2 separate regions of the Homo sapiens genome follow, and region 1 is linked to region 2. Evidence: promoter capture Hi-C in human tissues and cell types (Jung and others, 2019). All regions are on one chromosome and are shown on one strand. The core of a region is centred on a gene start or on the middle of the fragment in contact, and the rest is flanking DNA. Distances in the headings are between cores, read along the strand shown.

The links. The method cuts DNA at HindIII sites, captures the fragments that hold promoters and counts their contacts. A contact is called where the count stands out against the background at its distance.
Region 1: the fragment with the promoter of ANKRD40 here is called in contact with the fragment with the promoter of MRPL27 in region 2 in 1 of the 25 tissues and cell types used here (dorsolateral prefrontal cortex).

What each region holds. Positions count from the first base shown.
Region 1 is chr17:50,706,604-50,710,671 of GRCh38, reverse strand. ANKRD40 (ankyrin repeat domain 40) reads left to right here and starts at 2,758. Exons shown (of 5, transcript NM_052855.4): 1 at 2,758-3,151. The coding sequence starts at 3,018. RefSeq lists silencers at 2,813-3,022, 3,153-3,422. The HindIII fragment of the contact is 5,112 bases long and covers 2,126-4,068 here.
Region 2 is chr17:50,371,151-50,375,190 of GRCh38, reverse strand. It overlaps MRPL27 (mitochondrial ribosomal protein L27), which reads left to right and starts at 2,007. Exons shown (of 4, transcript NM_016504.3): 1 at 2,007-2,060. The coding sequence starts at 2,021. EME1 (essential meiotic structure-specific endonuclease 1) reads right to left here and starts at 1,962. Exons shown (of 9, transcript NM_152463.4): 1 at 1,914-1,962; 2 at 1-6. RefSeq lists enhancers at 1,644-1,863, 2,004-2,473. The HindIII fragment of the contact is 32,602 bases long and covers 1-4,040 here.

The sequences.
Region 1 (4,068 bases), core at 1,509-4,008, 330 kb before region 2:
CAGAAACCCGAACATTATCCTTGTTTCTTGACCACCACTGCCCTCCCATTCTGCCAGGTTAAGTTTTCCTAACGTAAACCTTGTTGTAACCCACCTATGATCCAATGAATGTTTAAGATGTCTAGGCTTTGCACATATCCATTCATTCAATCCATAGAACAATCCTGCAAGGTGGGTGCTACTATTATTCCTGTTTCGCAGGTGCAGAATTTGAGGCACAGGAAAGTTGAGTAACTCATTCAAGATTATATGAGTGGCAAAGCTGGCATACAAACCCAGGCAGTCTGGCGTCTGTCTCCACACTCACTACCACTATGCCACATTGTTTCTATTGTAATGCATAGCACATTCTATTGTTCGCCTTGTCTCCCCTGATAAACTGTTCTTCAAAGTCAAGGACTCTGATTCATTTGCAGCAGCATCCTCAGTGACTAGAACAGTGCCTGGCAAACAGCACATGCTTAATACAGTTCAGTGAGTTAGGTAGTTCCCTAGAGACAAGACAGAGTAGAGATAAATGGAAGTAGTAATAGAACAGCCAGCAGGTTACATTCAGTTATATCCAAGATCAGAAGTTTTGTTTGTGGATAAAATTTTGTTTTTTTTAATCTGAAGATAATAAACAGAAGACTGAAATCAGAGTAAGTAGAGGTTGAGTTTAAGAAGATCTACTAATATTCACGGATACAGCAGTTATGTAGGGTACATGCTATAATCCTTTTAAGGAAGGGACATTTGACAAACTCTCATAAAGAGAACTCATAGACTTTGGGGGCCGGGCGCGGTGGCTCATGCCTGTAATTCCAGCACTTTGGGAAGCTGAGGCGGGCGGATCACCTGAGGTCGGGAGTTTGAGACCAGCCTGAGCAACATGGAGAAACTCCGTCTCTACTAAAAATACAAAAAATTAGCCAGGCATGGTGGAACATGCCTGTAATCCCAGCTACTCAGGAGGCTGAGGCAGGAGAATCGCTTGAACCTGGGAGGTGGAGATTGTGGTGAGCCGAGATCGCGCTGTTGCACTCCAGCCTGGGCAATGAGAGCGAAACTCCTCCATCTCAAAAAAAAAAAAAAAAAAAAAAGAACTCATAGACTTTGGGGTGCAGTCACGAACAATTTTTTTTAACTGCATTAAAAACAAAAAACAACAACAACAAAAAAACAAAAACAGGCCAGGCGCGGTGGCTCATGCTTGTAATTCCAGCACTTTGGGAGGCTGAGGCTGGCAGATCACATGAGGTCAGGAGCTGGAGACCAGACTGGCCAACATGGTGAAACCCCATGTCTACTAAAAATACAAAAATTAGCCGAGCATGGTGGCACAGGCCTGTAATCCCAGCTGCTCGGGAGGCTGAGGCAGGAGAATTGCCTGAACCTGGACTTAGAGGTTGCAAGGAGCTCAGAGATCGCCCCACCGAACACCAGCCTGGGCAACAGAGTGAGACTCTGTCTCAAAAACAAGCAAACAAAAACAACAAGCCACTACCTACTCCCATGTCACTGAAATTGTGTTGAAGGACTCAAATCCAGTGCCATACACATCAGTTTCAGATAGAGTATCATGCTGGATGTGAGAATTAAAATTTAAATTGGGGGAACAAATGAAAATGTAAGCTCAAGCAGGGTTACAATTTGCCATGGGGGTCAATTTAAGTGTGTAGTCAGTTTATATTCAGCACCACCTGGTGTGCACTGTGTACTGTGTGAATTACTGTATCATACTAAACAAACAGACATTGGTTTTTCTTAAACTGTAGCAAGAAAAATGCTTGCTGTGCAGATCCCAGCAGCCCCAAGAGACGGAAATGAAAACTCCATGCCTAAATTTATCCCTTCCTATTTCATCTCTCCTTGTTCAGGCCTTCCTCCCTTCCTCCCCAGGGCTATTTCCTTAATCTTGACCCCATCTGTAAAGTTCCATCCTGTGCCACATCGGAGGATCTCTTCAGGGCACCTGGGCTCAACAAAACAATATTTCCTTTTTCTCCCACTGGGTATAAAACAGTGCCAACTGAGGCTCTGAGCCTCATTAGATAGATCGGGCAAGAAGTGAAGCAAAATGCTGTTTACATGTACACCACAGCTCTTCCCAGAGCACTTGGAATCAGGACCAGGACACCTCCAAAGCCTCTTTGGTGTTTTTCCTTTCTTTTCTCCTTATATGGCCTTCATGAAGAGTAACTAATTACAATCTGTAAGCAGTAATTACAGTTCATAAACTGTGAGCACAATATAAATATTTTTCCTGAAAGCCAGGTTAGAAGAAATCCTGTCTAAAATGAGATGTAAAACAACAACAATTGAAATAAATATTCTAACTGAATTGTCCCCAAGCACTGTCAAAAAGAAGAAGAGTCTAATCTATCTCTGTAATAATGGGCGTATTATAGTAGGATCGTTTTCAGCCCATTTCCCCATCCTGCTGGGCACGAATTGGCTCAGATAAGGAAAAGGAGCCAACCAAACTGGGGGAAAATAACAAAAAAACCCCAAATCCCAATAAAAAGAACCCACCAATTATTTTGGATGCCTGGTAAACAGCCTGCACCAGAGGATAAGGCTTTTCTGGCCCTCAGCTATGCTTTTTTCTCTTTTCATGTGTCTTGTCCTCCTCCCTTGAAACTGCGGGGTGGGGAAGTCTAAAAATAGTCAATGAATCATGGCATATAATATTGTGCAGTAGTTACATAAACAGCCAGCCCGGGCGCCGGAGCCCCGGGTCGGAACGGAAAATATCTGGGTCAGCGTTGTCACACTGAACAGGGTCCCCCGGAGCCGGCCTTCGGGAGGCGCGGCCCGGGAGGAGGCCTGGGCCTGCGGGCCGGGAGCAGCAGGGGCGGCCCGCGGGAGGGAGCGGAAGTCCCGGGGCGGGCGCGGGCAGCGGCGCGAGCAGGGCGGGCGAGTTCCGCGCTCCCTCCCCATGGCCGGGAGCGGGCCGCGGCGACGGCGGCGGCGCTGACAGGCCCCGGGCGGGGCGGGGCAGGCGGGCCTGGGCGGGGGCCTGGGGCTGTGGGAAGATGAACGCCCTCCTAGAGCAGAAGGAGCAGCAGGAGAGGCTGCGGGAGGCCGCGGCCTTAGGGGACATTCGGGAGGTGCAGAAACTGGTGGAGAGCGGGGTGGATGTGAACTCCCAAAATGAGGTCAACGGCTGGTAAGTGGGGAGCGGGGGAGGCCTAGGGTCAGGGCAGCCGGTCGGAAGGCGTGGGGCAGTCAGTCGCGACCTGGGCCCAGCGCGGGACGCCTGGCTACGGCGAGGCCTGCCACCTCGGGCCTCCGAGATTGTGCTCTCTTGAGGCCAGCCCTGGCCCCCATGCCTCGTGCGGTCGGGAGCGCGTCCTGCCCAAATCCCGGCCCACGTGGTCCACTCGGGGCAGCGCCCACTGGGACTCTGGTGCCCTACCCCCTTCCCCCGCGCTCCCGGCTCACTTGGTCAGAGCGGTGCTGGAGGCAGTGATTCTCAGCGACTATGCGTTGGAGCTCACCCCAATTCGAGTGTTGAGTTAATTTGCCGTAGGTGCTTCTGGAGAACGCATCTTGCAGAGCTAAAAGCATAAGCAACTGAGCAAATATGAATTTTATAAACTAGCACGATTTCCTTAGCCAAGACCAGGAAAAAAAAACACATTTGCATCACCATTCTGCTTCTCTGTTGTTTCACTGCAACCGATTTGCTGCTGCTGCCTGTAGTTGCCTGTTTGAGGGAAAACTCATTTGTTTATCCTATCGATTATTTTCTTTCTTTTTTTTTTTTTTTTTTTTTTTTTTTTTGAGACAGGGTCTTGCCCTGTCGCCCAGGGTGGAGTGCAGTGGCATAGTCTCGGCTCACTGCAACTTCTACCTCCCCGGCTCAGGTGATCCTCCTGCCACAGCCTCCCAAATAGCTGGGAATACAGGCACGCGCCCCCACACCCGGCTAATTTTTTTTTTTTTTTTTTTTGGTATTTTTGGTAGAGATGGGGCCAGGTTGGTCTCAAACTCCTGGCCTCAAGTGATCCACCCGCCTCAGCCTCCAAAAGTGCTGGGATTACAGATGTGAGCCTACCGTTCCTGGCCAGTTTTCTTATTACA
Region 2 (4,040 bases), core at 758-3,257:
AATTCCCTAAAAGGAAAAGAGACATATGACACAGACTGGAGCATTCAATTCAGTCCACTAGCTGTGTTCCATAGCCAGGCTTTATGACATAAATATAAGATATAGAGAATACAGAAACAGAGAAATATGACATGGCCCCAACACATTCAATCTGGAACTCTAACTCCTGGTAATCTAACAGGAATCCTCCTCAAATTCTTTCCAGGTCAAGCTGAAGTATAAACAAAGTAGAGTTACCATTACAAAATTTTAATGGGGGGAGGTGGTAACAAGATTTAACACCTCCAACCCCTTGTTTATCTTCACGTTTGAAATGGAGATGTCAAAAGTTCTTCTTTTTTTTTTTTGAGATGGAGTCTCACTCTGGCACCCACGTTGGAGTGCAGTGGCACAATCTTGGCTCACTGCAACCTCACTCCCAGGTTCAAGTGATTCTCCTGCCTCAGCCTAGCTGGGATTACAGGCGCCCCACCACCACACCTGGCTAATTTTTGTATTTTTAGTAGAGATGCGTTTTCATCATGTTCGCCAGGCTAGTCTTGAACTCCTGACCTCAAGTGATCCGCCCGCCTTGGCCTCCCAAAGTGCTGAGATTACAGGTGTGAACCACTGCACCTGGCCAAAAACTGTTCTTTTTAAAAATTGAGATATAGGCTGGGCATGGTAGCTCATGCGTATAATCCCAGCACTTTGGGAGGCCAAAGCAGAAGGATCACTTGAGCCCAGGAGTTCGAGAACAGCCTGGGCAACATAGTGAGAACTCGTCTCTACAAAAAAATACAAAAATTAGCTGGGTATGGTGGCTCACACCTGTAGTCCCAGATACTCAGGAGGCTGAGGTGGGAGGATTGCTTGAGCCTGGGAGGTCAAGGCTGCAGTGAGCTGTGATTGTACGACTGCACTCCAGCCCGGGTGACAGAGTGAGACCCTGCTTCAAAAGAAAAATAAAATAAAAATAAAAATAGAGATATAATTTGCACAGCATAATATCCTTTTAAAAGTGTACATTCAGTAGATTTTAGTATATTCACAATGTTGTGCAACCATCATCACTATTTTATCACCTCAAAAAGAATTCCTGCAGCCATTAAGCCGTCACTGTCCTTTCCCTCCCTCCCCAGCTCCTGGCAACCATAAATCTGTCTCTATGCATTTGCCTATTCTGGATATTTCATATAAATAGAATCATACACTATGTGGCCTTTTGTGATTGACTTTTTTCACTCAGCTTGTTTTCAAGGTTTATCTATGATGTAGCCTGTATCAGTAGTTAATTGCTTTTCATGACTGAATAATATTCCACTGTATGGATATGCTACATTTTGTTTATCCATTCATCACTTGGACATTTAATTTGTTTCCTTTTTTTGCCTGTTATGAATAATGCTGCTATGAACACTGACATACAAGTTTTTGTGGGGGTATGTTTTCAAATCCCTTTCGTGTATATACCTAGGAGTAGAATTGCTGGGTCATATGCAAAGCTAATCATTTCTTGAACATTTACTAACACTGTAGGTATGACCCAGAAGGAGACATGTAACCTGCCTAGGCCTCAGTTTCTTCCTTAGTAAAACAGGGATGGTAACAGCACCCATTTTATAAGGTAGTGAGAATTAAATAAAATAATGCATCCACCGCGCTTAGTACAGCATCTGGCACACAGCTGGCTAAGTAGAGTAAGTTGAATGACTAGGGAGGGGGCCTCATCTCTGACCCTTCGCTGGGCCTCCGTTGACATCTGCAAATCAGGGGAGTGGGACAAGCGGGCCCCTGCCCGACAAGCTCTGCGCCTCTCAGGCTGGCGGTCCGCTGCAGAGGCTCCTGGACACCTTAGCCACCAAGATTCTGCAGAGCGGTGTTCAGGAGGGAAGCCCTGCCCAATCCGCAGGCCTGCGACCGGGGACGCTCACCTGCAACTTCTCCCGCCACTCTTTCAACTGCCACGCAGGGCCCGGAAGTAGATCTCCTGATAGCGGAAGTAGAAACTTTTCGAGACCGGAAGTGAGTGATCGAAAGCATGGCGTCGGTGGTGTTGGCGCTGAGGACCCGGACAGCCGGTAATGGGACGCAGTAGTCAGAGCGGGGTGAGGCGGGGAGGCAGAGTGGAGCTCCAGCAGGGAGGGAAGGAGGTGACACTGATCCCCGCGGAGGACCTTGGATGCGAGGGGAAGTGTGTGGGGTACTCCAGGTTTGAGGGACGGTGTCGCTGGTCACGTGACACATCCTGGGTGGAGCCGTGAGTGAGGGCGTTTGAAGAGCACTTGTCTTTCTCCTGCCTCAGCAGCACGGACGGGTTCCTTGGCGGTTGGGGATTTGGGTGGGTCCTTTCTCTGTAGAAGTATTAGTAACATTGGCATATTGGGGTTGAAAAAATTAATCTATTGATTCAGCAGATTGAGGTCTTACTTTGTGCTAGACACGGCGGTAGGTGTTCGGAAAATCAGCAGAAAACGTGAAGACTTGGCTTCTAGCCCCCGAACGGTTCTCTCTGGTGCATAAGGCAATAAATGAACATATAAAGTAGATGTAGACTGGCAAGTGCTGTGAAGAAGGATAATGTGTGTCTGTGTGTGTGTCTTTTTTTAGATTGGACGGTGAAGGAAGGCTTCTGAGGAGATAACATTTAAAACCTAAAGAATGACAGGCGGGGCGTGATGGCTCACGCCTGTAGTCCCAACACTTTGGGAGGCCTAGGTGGGCGGATCGCTTGAGCCCAGGAGTTCAAGACCGACTGGGCAACATGGCAAAACCCCATCTCTACAAAAAATACAAAAATTAGCTGGGTGTAGTGGCGCTTGCCTGTGGTCTCAGATACTCAGGAGGCTGAGGTGGGAGGATCACCTGAGCTCGGGAGGTCGAGGTTGCAGTGAGCTATGTTCATACCACTGCACTCCAGCCTGGGTGACAGAATGGGGCCCTATCCCCCCCCCCCAAAAAAAAAAGAATGACAGGAGACCTAGACCTGTGTAGAGTGAGGGACAGGAGAGTGACTTGAGCCAGTTTTACATTTTGAGAAGCAAACTATTGCTCTTATGTAAATTTAAAGGGGATAGGAGTGGAAATGAGGAAATCAAATGGAAAGTCGTAATAGCCCTGAGGAGAGATGATTTAGCCAAGATGTTTGTGGTGGCAGTGAACTTGGAGGAAAACGGATGAATTTGAGATCTGTTTTGGAGTTAGCATCCACAGAGCTTGCTGGTGAACAATATGTGAGGACAGCAAAGAGAAGGAATCTGCAATGACTCTGGTTTCTGCCTAAGCAACTGGATGAATGGTGGTACCATTTACTTTGAGGAGGAGGATGGGGAGTAGGGTGAAGAGCAAAGATTTGTGAGTGAGATAATGTAAGTAAAGTAAAAGCCCAGCTCCTGAGCTTAGTAAGTATGTAAATGAATGAATAGATGTTTAAAGGTAGGTAGATCCTGGCGCCGGGCATGTTTTAACATGTTGTCTTTCTGAGTCCTTATCTCTGGTCCTTTGCCCCAGCTAGTCTCTGGTGTCATGGAAATGTCAGAAACCCAGGCTTCAGGAACTCTGAACTTATAGGCTCCAGAGACCCACAAGGCTTCTCTAAAGACACTGGCATGGACCTTAAATCATGGCTGTGTCTGGAGACCTGCAGGCAAGGAGTTGCACCCCTAGGCTTGTCATACAGCAAGGGACTACCATCTTAGTATGAATTTTAGTTCATTTTACTTCTGCAAATGAATGCTATTGAGCACTTTGGAATGAGTATGGAGAGGTCAGATTAACAAGGGCAGTGTGTGGGTCATGGTTGGACCTCTGCTTGATGTGCTTTGAGAAGAAAGGGCCCAGCCTTCTGAAATGGCCAGGACCCTGTGGGAGCCACTTTTAGGCCAGCCATCCTTTTGGTTTACTAGTATTTGGTGAGCAGTGGATGAGTGGACAGCTGAGAAAGTCATGGGTGAGGCCTGTAATCCCAACACTTTGGGATCACCTGAGGTCAGGAGTTCGAGACCAGCCTGGCTAACATGGTGAAACCCCGTTTCTACTAAAAATACGAAAAATTAGCTGGG